Linked DNA regions of Homo sapiens: all the other regions are linked to region 1. The links are contacts of gene promoters, found by promoter capture Hi-C in blood cells and fetal thymus (Javierre and others, 2016). All regions are on one chromosome and are shown on one strand. The core of a region is centred on a gene start or on the middle of the fragment in contact, and the rest is flanking DNA. Distances in the headings are between cores, read along the strand shown. Region 1 holds the start of CD180 (CD180 molecule). Region 2 overlaps PIK3R1 (phosphoinositide-3-kinase regulatory subunit 1). Region 3 overlaps LINC02219 (long intergenic non-protein coding RNA 2219).

Region 1 (2,632 bases), core at 78-2,577:
CTCCCAAAGTGCTGGGATTATAGGCGTGAGCCACCACGCCTGGCCCAGTCTGTGGCATTTGTTATGACAGCCCAAGCAAAGCAACACACACCTTCCCAGCCTTCATTTCTCATTGGCATGATGCCTCCTCTTGGCCTGCTGCTGATTCCATCCTAATGCCAGACCAACAAGGCTCTGCTCACCCAGCTCTGAGCCTTACCCCAGTGCTGGCTTTGCTCTGCTCTTCCTGATCCTCTGATCTCCTTCTAGTCCTGCCCCAGGGCAACTCCACATCTGGCTATTCCTGGCTCTTACTCTTCTTTTTACCTCAACCCAGACCAGCAGCTCACCAAGCCACCAAGACTCATGGTTCCTCCTGTATGCAGCCCTTGTCTGACAGGCCACGTGGTATTGATCACTTGTGGGGTCAGAGAAAGTGGGAGGAAGTTTGAAGCATTTTAGAGGATGGCAAGAGACGGAGGCCCTTCTCCTTTTTCTCTCATTATCCCCTCCAAGAACTTCCCACAGGTTGATAAATATTGCTATGGTCCAAAACAGAAGGTGCAATTTGGCTCTATTCTCAGATTTTCCTCCTATGGGTTAGTAAAACAGATGGAAGGCTGTCCAAGTCCAAGAGAGAGCCAGACTCATTCAGAGTGATCTTTTCAATGCTCGAAAACCTGGCACAGCGCTGTCTTTACTAATTCTCACCCTGAGAGGAGACCAAAGGACTCATTGGGATAGAGGCCATGTGAGAGTGGGGATGTTAAACCAACAGCTCCCCTAGGTTGAGGCAGGTTTAGGGGTCTGCTTTGTGCACACAGACCCTATTAATATCTTATGACCCACTTGGGATTATTTGGGTGGAATTGTTTGAAGAGGAGAAAAATTCTCTTTGCTTCCTATTAAGATGCCACCAGATGATCCCCTGGCAGAGTTCTTTGGCTCCTTTCTCACAATAATGAAAAAATTATATATACACCTTATTTCCTTTTTAAAGACACTAGATATTGGGATGCCAAGGCTCAGATTGGACTGCGTGCTAAATCTCAAAATTTTCAGACAGTTTAATCTGCATAAAGACAAACAGTTTGGACTCACCTCAATGCACATCTGATCCCAGGAGGTGATGACTTTACAGCCGGCAGAAAACAGCACCACCCAAAAGAAGCAGCTGACGTCAAACGCCATCACAGGCTAGGATTGCTTGGTGGGTTTACCTAATGCTTGGAGCTGAGAAATGGAATCAAACTGTGAAGGCCCTGGCAATTTGGCAGCCAGAGAGGTACTCAGAAGGGTGATCTTGGAACAAGAAATGCTGTTGACTGCTCAGCATTCTGTGGCTCTGTGCTGGAAAAAAAAAAAAAAAAAAAAAAGGAAGTCCCTTTTGCATACCACCCATCTTTGCCAAAAATAACTGAGGACCCAACCCCAGAATGGCCCGTTGCATTTCCTGGCACTGAACATGAATCAGTTGTGCAGTCCTTTTGGGCTGATCACACAGACTCTCATTGTGATGGTTCCAATTGACTTTATGCCAACTTCAAGCATTTGGCCAACTCCAACAGCTTCTGGTCCTTTTCCCCGAGAGAGGCTGTGGAAGCTCTACTCACCAAGGAGGCCACTTTCTTAGTTGTCCTAGGTGAGTGAATAGAAGAGGTGTCAGAGAACATGGAAGGGCAGAGCACTCTGCAGGGGCAGACTGAAGAACTGAGCCCTTCAGTGGCACCTGCTGAGCTGGGAACTGGAGCAGGAGGGAGCAGGCTTGAGAGTGTATCTGCTCCTTGAGCCTCAGCTGCTGCCTTGGCCACCTTGTCCATCCCCACCTCTGGTCTTCGTATAGGGGGAAGATTACTTCATCTCTTGACCTGGCGGTTCAGGCTTGTTAAAGCAGTTGGGGTGGACTCTCTTGTTCCCTCCTAACCTGGCCTGGGGAAGTAGGGGACACTGCCATAGATAGAGCAGCCTGGCTAAAGGAGAGTAGAGTTAGGGATGCCAGCCTTGGCTCTATTTCTTCTTAGAAATAGCTTTGAAGCAGGATTACAATTACCCTTATTATGGAGCAAGATGTGGCAATGATTAAAGAAAGCCAAAGTTCAAACATTCCTCAATAGGCTGCATTTAGCTACCTGTTCTGTCTGTTCTTCAACCCTCTGGCATACAGGATATATTTGGTGTTACTGTTCTCCCACTCCATTTCCAAGAGCCCAGTTCTTAGTATCAGAGTTCACAATGACTTAACTACTGCTACTACTACTACTACCACCACCACCACCACCACCACCTCTACAGTATTACTATGATGAATCAAATGACTATAGTATCTGCCATTTATTGAGTCCTTACTATGTGTCAGACACTGGGTCAGGTTTAATGCAGTTTTTTGCTGCATTTTCCTATCCTCGAATATTTCCATATATTCTATAAGAGAGATATTATTATTTCCCTCATTTTATAGATGTAGAAACTGATGCTTAAGAGAAATTAAATGATCTCTCCAAGCCACACAATTAGAGAGTGGTAGATTAGGGCTTCAGATCCAGAAAATCTCACTGCAGAGACTATGCTGCTACTCTTCACAGTTTAAGAAAGGACTTTGCCTCCTGAAGGAGCTGAAGAGTAGATGGGGCGAAGAATGTTGTTCATCTGGAGA
Region 2 (2,632 bases), core at 63-2,562, 1.1 Mb after region 1:
AGACACATACTTGAGTATTTATTCTCTTCAGTTGCAATGAAGGTGACAGTGAATTTGCTGAATAGCTGTGTACATGTTTCCCCAAAGAGACCACTGGAATAAAGTTTTGTTTCTTGAGACAGTTTCCATTGCATTTATAAGTCTTGTCCCTTGAAGGATGTTTTCTGGTAAACACCTGTATTCTTTTTACATTATATATCTTCATTACCGTACAAGTTTGGTTGTGAGCCATTCCAAAGTCTTTAGTATGCTGTATGGGTGTATTCTATACTTTATACCTTATTTGGAAGTCATAATAATGTCAAAACTATGCCTAGCCATCCCCTTCCCTGCAGAGTCTCTTTTGCTTTGTCCACTTGGTGTGTATATTTTTTTTTTTTTTTTTTGAGACAGAGTTTTACTCGTCGCCCAAGCCGCAGTGCAGTGGCGCGATCTCGGCTCGCTGCAACTTCTGCCTCCCGGGCCCAAGCGATTCTCCTGCCTTAGCCCCCCAGGTAGCTGAGATTACCGGTGCCCGCCACCACGCCCAGCTAATTTTTGTATTTTTAGTAGAGACAGGGTTTCACCATGTTAGCCAGGCTGGTCTGGAACGCCTGACCTCAAACGGTCCATCCGCTTCAGCCTCCCAAAGTGCTGGGATTACAGGCGTGAGCCACCGCGCCCGTCCATGTGTGTCTTTTTTATTTTTTGTTTTTTGAGACGGAGTCTCGCTCTGTCGCCCAGGCTGGAGTGCAGTGGTGCGATCTTGGCTCACTGCAAGCTCCGCCTCCTGGGTTCACGCCATTCTCCTGCCTCAGCCTCCCGAGTAGCTGGGACTGCAGGCGCCTGCCACCACGTTGTGTGTCTTTTTAAAAGATTTCCAGGACTTCTTTTTCCTTTACAAATCCAAAATTGCAGTAGCTTAATAAATAACAAATATTTTGGTTTTATGATTACTGTCAAATAGCTCATTAGTAAGAGAAAAAAAAAAATGCTGAGCCTTAAGAGGGGAGAGGAAAGGCAGTCTTTCTGAAGCTGAATCCTTTGCCTAAATTGTCTTAGCAATAAATCTTGCCACCTATTGGTAAAAAGGAAGAACTAAAACTAAAAGGTGTTTGCCGTTCTCACAGGTAGTTAGTAGTGTGATCGAAATAGAATTCTTTCAGCGGTGCTTTTGGATAAGGGGCTTGGAAATATGTGATTTGATATGGAACTTTTCCCTGTGCTTTGAATTTATCATGGCTCATCTCTAAGTCATAATAGTTTTTTGAGTAGAGGAGGTATGCTGCTCTCATGGTCTCTCTTAAAATTATATTTTTTGAGATAGAATTCCATTTTAATAGATCAGTGGATTTTAATTGGACACATTTTAGAGGCTTGATTGATTTTGAAAACATTTTTCTTTTTTCTTTCTTTCTGTCTTTCTGCCTTTCTTTCCACCACGGCTAACTGCAGTCTGAACCTCCTGTGCTCAGTTGATCCTCCCGCCTCAGCCTCCTGAGTAGCTGGGACTACAGGCGTGCGCCACCATGCCTGGCTAATTTTTCTGTAGAGATGGGGTTTCACCATGTTGCCTAGGCTGGTCTCAAGTGATCTGTCTGCCTCAGCCTCCTAAAGGGCTAAAATTATAGGTGTGAGCCACTGCACGTGGCCTTTTTTTTTTTTTTTTCTTGAGACAGGGTCTTCCTCTGTCACTCAGGCTGGAGTATAGTGGCATCAACATGGCTCACTGTAGCCTTGACATCTTGGGGTCACCTGATCCTCCTACCTCAGCCTCTGGTGTAGCTGGGACTACAGGCTGAAAACATTTTTCTAACTCTGTTGTTAGTTTGGGCTTTCCTTCATTCCAGCCTCTGAAATCCATTATTTCCTGCCCAACGGGACAGGCCAGTGGTGACGTTGGCCTTTGGTGCCAGGGCCTGTTTTTCCAGATCATGGGCACCATACAAAGATAACTGCCCTAAACGGCATCATTGCCCCAGAGTCATTGAATGTCCTTAAGGTGCATTTGATAAAACAAAAACAGTTTTTTGTTTTGAAAATTCTCAAGTATTTCCATACTGGGAAAATGTTCTTTTTTTTTTTTTGACAGGGTCTTGCTCTGCTGCCCAGGCTGGAGTGCAGTGGCGGGATCTCAATTCACTGCAACCTCTGCATCCTGGGTTCAAGCAATTCTCCTGCCTCAGCTGGGACCACCGGCACATGCCACTAAGCCCGGCTAATTTTTGTATTTTTAGTAGAGATGGGGTTTTGCCATGTTGGCCAGACTGGTCTTGAACTCTTGACCTCAAGAGTGACCCATCTGCCTCGGCCTCCGAGAGTGCTGGGATTACAGGCATGAGCCACCATGCCTGGCCAACAATGTTCTTTTTAATGGTGTTTTCCCCACTATCTGGATAGATATATGAATTCAGTTACTAAGATGACTTAGATTTAAATATAAAACACTAGCATAGCAGTTTTTGATTCTTAATATTATCTTAAATCCACCTCCCCTCATTGTCCTCTGTATCTAAACACCCTTCAATTCTTGAGAAAATTAAGATTACCAAAGATTAGTAATCTATTTGTGATTGTGTGTGTTGGTGGACATCCTAACAAATTTATGAATAAAGCCAATACTGTTTTGTTAGTGTCCTTATTTTTTCTTTAC
Region 3 (2,632 bases), core at 75-2,574, 1.0 Mb after region 1:
GTTTACCAGGCTGGTCCCGAACTCCTGACCTCAGGTGATACACCCGCCTTGGCCTCCCAAAGTGCTGTGATTACAGGCATGAGCTACCACGCCTGGCCGGTGCTGAATTTTAATTCCTCAACCAGCTGGGCTACCCTCGGTAATACCCTCAGTAATCATTACCCTCCCCATCACGAACTGCTCACTTGATCACTCAACACATAGAGAGTCTCCTTCATTCCCAATGTAGAATAGAGAGCAGAGATAACAGTGGAGAGTAAAGGCAACATGGTCCCTGCCCTCACGGAGTTTATACTCTAGTGGGGAAGACAAACATTATTCAAAGAGTTACATATAAATATAAAACTATACTGTGACAAATGCCACAAGGAAAAGGTGCAGAGTTTGATGACCCCAGGACCTGGAATTTACCTAGTCAGAGAGATCAAGGAAGGCTTCCCTAAGGAAGTGGTGCAGAGCTGAGATCGGAAGAAGCAGGGATGTTCTCCACAGAAAGAACATGCTCAGAAGCCCAGTCAGCAGCAGGAAGGAGTGTGGTGATTTTGAGGAACCGAAAGAAGACCAGCATGGCTGGAGAACAGAGGATGGGGGTGTGATATGTGACGAGCGAAGAGAAGTAAGCGGGGGCAAGATTGTGTAAGCCTGTGATCAGGATTCTGGCCTGTATGCCTAGAGCAGTTATTTTCAACTTCGGCTACATGTCAGAACCACCTACAAAGCATTTTAAAATACTGATTAAAGGATCCCATTCCAGAACCATCAAATCCAAACTTCTGGAAGTGAGAACCAGGCATAAGTATTTTTTTTAAAGCTTTCAGGTGATTTTATCATGAAAACAAGGGTGAGAATCATTGACCTATAGCAATGAGAAGTCACTAAAATGTTTGAAGATAATATGTATGCTATGAATCTTTAGAGGGAGTTGGAAGCCATTTCCAGATTTACATTTCAAAAAGCATCCTCTGGCTAGAACCATGGAGTTATCAATGCTAGTGATTGAGAGTTCAAAAAGGAGACCAATTCAGTGACAACTATTTTTTTATTTTTATTTTTTTGAGATGGAGTTTCCCTCTTGTCATCCAGTCTGGAGTGCAATCTCACAATCTCGGCTCACTGCAACCTCTGCCTCCTTGGTTCAAGTGATTCTCCTGCCTCAGCCTCCCAAGTAGCTGGGATTACAGGCGCCTGCCACCACGCCCAGCTAGTTTTCACATTTTTAGTAGAGATGGGGTTTCGCCATGTTGGCCAGGCTGGTCTCAAACTCCTGACCTCAGGTTATCCACCCGCCTCGGCCTCCCAAAGTGCTGGGATTATAGACATGAGCCACTGTGTCTAGCCAGTGACTGCTATTGATAAATGGTGCAGGTGAGGATTAGGGTAGCATCAACGGAGATGAAAAACATACATATATTTACAAGATTTTTAGTTGGTTAAAACACTGAGACTGGCAGAATGATGAAATGATGGATTCTATAATGGGAAAAAAGAGAGCAAATGACTATCAGTGTTCTGCTCACACAAGATGGATAATTGTGCCACTTGTTGATACAGGGACGAGGACTAGAATCAGAAATGTTTAGAGTGAGGGTACGTTTTCATTTGGGCATGTGAGGTTTGCTTTCATTTTGTCATGCATGTTCTTTACCTCTCTTTTCTGTAGGTCACCCGTACTTCATTTACCAGTCCTTGCTAAGGATTATTCATTAAAACACACAACAGCAACAATAACCACAAAAGCAACAATAAAAATACCTTTGAACTCACTCAATCTTGAACTATTGAACATGCTAAGTCCGTGTCATTGGCCTACTTAATCAGCCCTCGATTGTAACTTGAAGAAGCTTATTGATAAGAAAATAAACTTCTCATAAAGTATAACTACTTTCTTAGCAAAACTATTTGTTTCATCTTCTCTTTAAAATTTTTGATATTATGTATTTCCTTTTTTTTTTTTTTTTTTGGAGACAGAGTCTTACTCTGTCACCTGGGCTGGAGTGCAGTAGTGTTATCTCGGCTCAATGCAACCTCCGTCTCCTGGGTTCAAGCAATTCTCCTGCCTCAGCCTGCCGAGTAGCTGGAATTACAAACACCCGCCACCACCCCCAGCTAATTTTTTGTATTTTTAGTGGAGACAGGGTTTCACCATGTTGGCCAGGCTGGTCTTGAATGCCTGACCTCAGGTGATCCATCCACCTCAGCCTCCCAAAGTGCTGGGATTACAGGCGTGAGCCACTGCACCCGGTCTATTATGTATTTCTGAAGATATTTAATGCCAAGTAACAGAAACCACACTCCAATGAGTTTAAACAAAAATAACATTATTATAAGAATATAAAGGTATCTTATGGAATATAAGAATAAATCTGTGGCTAGAGTTAAGGAAAAGCTAGAATCACGAACTCATGACTTCACAGTTCCCTCTCCCCAGCTCTTCTTCTCTTGTGCATCTGCTTTGTTTTTCTTTCTCTGTTCTCAGAAACTAGCTCCCATCACTTTTCTTCTTAACATGAACAAAAATATGACAAGTGACAGCTCCTGAGGTTTAAGCCCTAGAGCTCAGACATCAGAGGGAAACAATCTTAACTCTTTCAGTACAAAACCTAAAATCCTGGGGTAGAAACTCAAGTAGACT

Evidence for each region. Contacts are between HindIII fragments. The CHiCAGO score rates a contact against its expected background, and 5 or more counts as called.
Region 2: a contact is called between a fragment that was not itself captured here and the fragment with the promoter of CD180 in region 1, in 10 of 17 cell types (total B cells, non-activated CD4 T cells, activated CD4 T cells and 7 more). The highest score is 17.6, in total B cells.
Region 3: a fragment that was not itself captured here is called in contact with the fragment with the promoter of CD180 in region 1 in 2 of 17 cell types (total B cells and naive B cells); the score reaches 12.5 in total B cells.

Annotation. Positions count from the first base shown.
Region 1 is chr5:67,195,472-67,198,103 of GRCh38, forward strand. It overlaps CD180 (CD180 molecule), which reads right to left and starts at 1,328. Exons shown (of 3, transcript NM_005582.3): 1 at 1,081-1,328. The coding sequence starts at 1,170. RefSeq lists an enhancer at 152-301. The HindIII fragment of the contact is 10,485 bases long and covers 1-2,632 here.
Region 2 is chr5:68,245,946-68,248,577 of GRCh38, forward strand. The region is part of intron 2 of PIK3R1 (phosphoinositide-3-kinase regulatory subunit 1); the gene reads left to right. Among named protein-coding and RNA genes, the nearest start is that of PIK3R1, 32 kb to the left of the region's middle. The HindIII fragment of the contact is 6,788 bases long and covers 1-2,632 here.
Region 3 is chr5:68,196,530-68,199,161 of GRCh38, forward strand. It overlaps LINC02219 (long intergenic non-protein coding RNA 2219), which reads left to right. Exons shown (of 3, transcript NR_105003.1): 3 at 1,661-1,878. Among named protein-coding and RNA genes, the nearest start is that of LINC02219, 8.0 kb to the left of the region's middle. The HindIII fragment of the contact is 1,030 bases long and covers 810-1,839 here.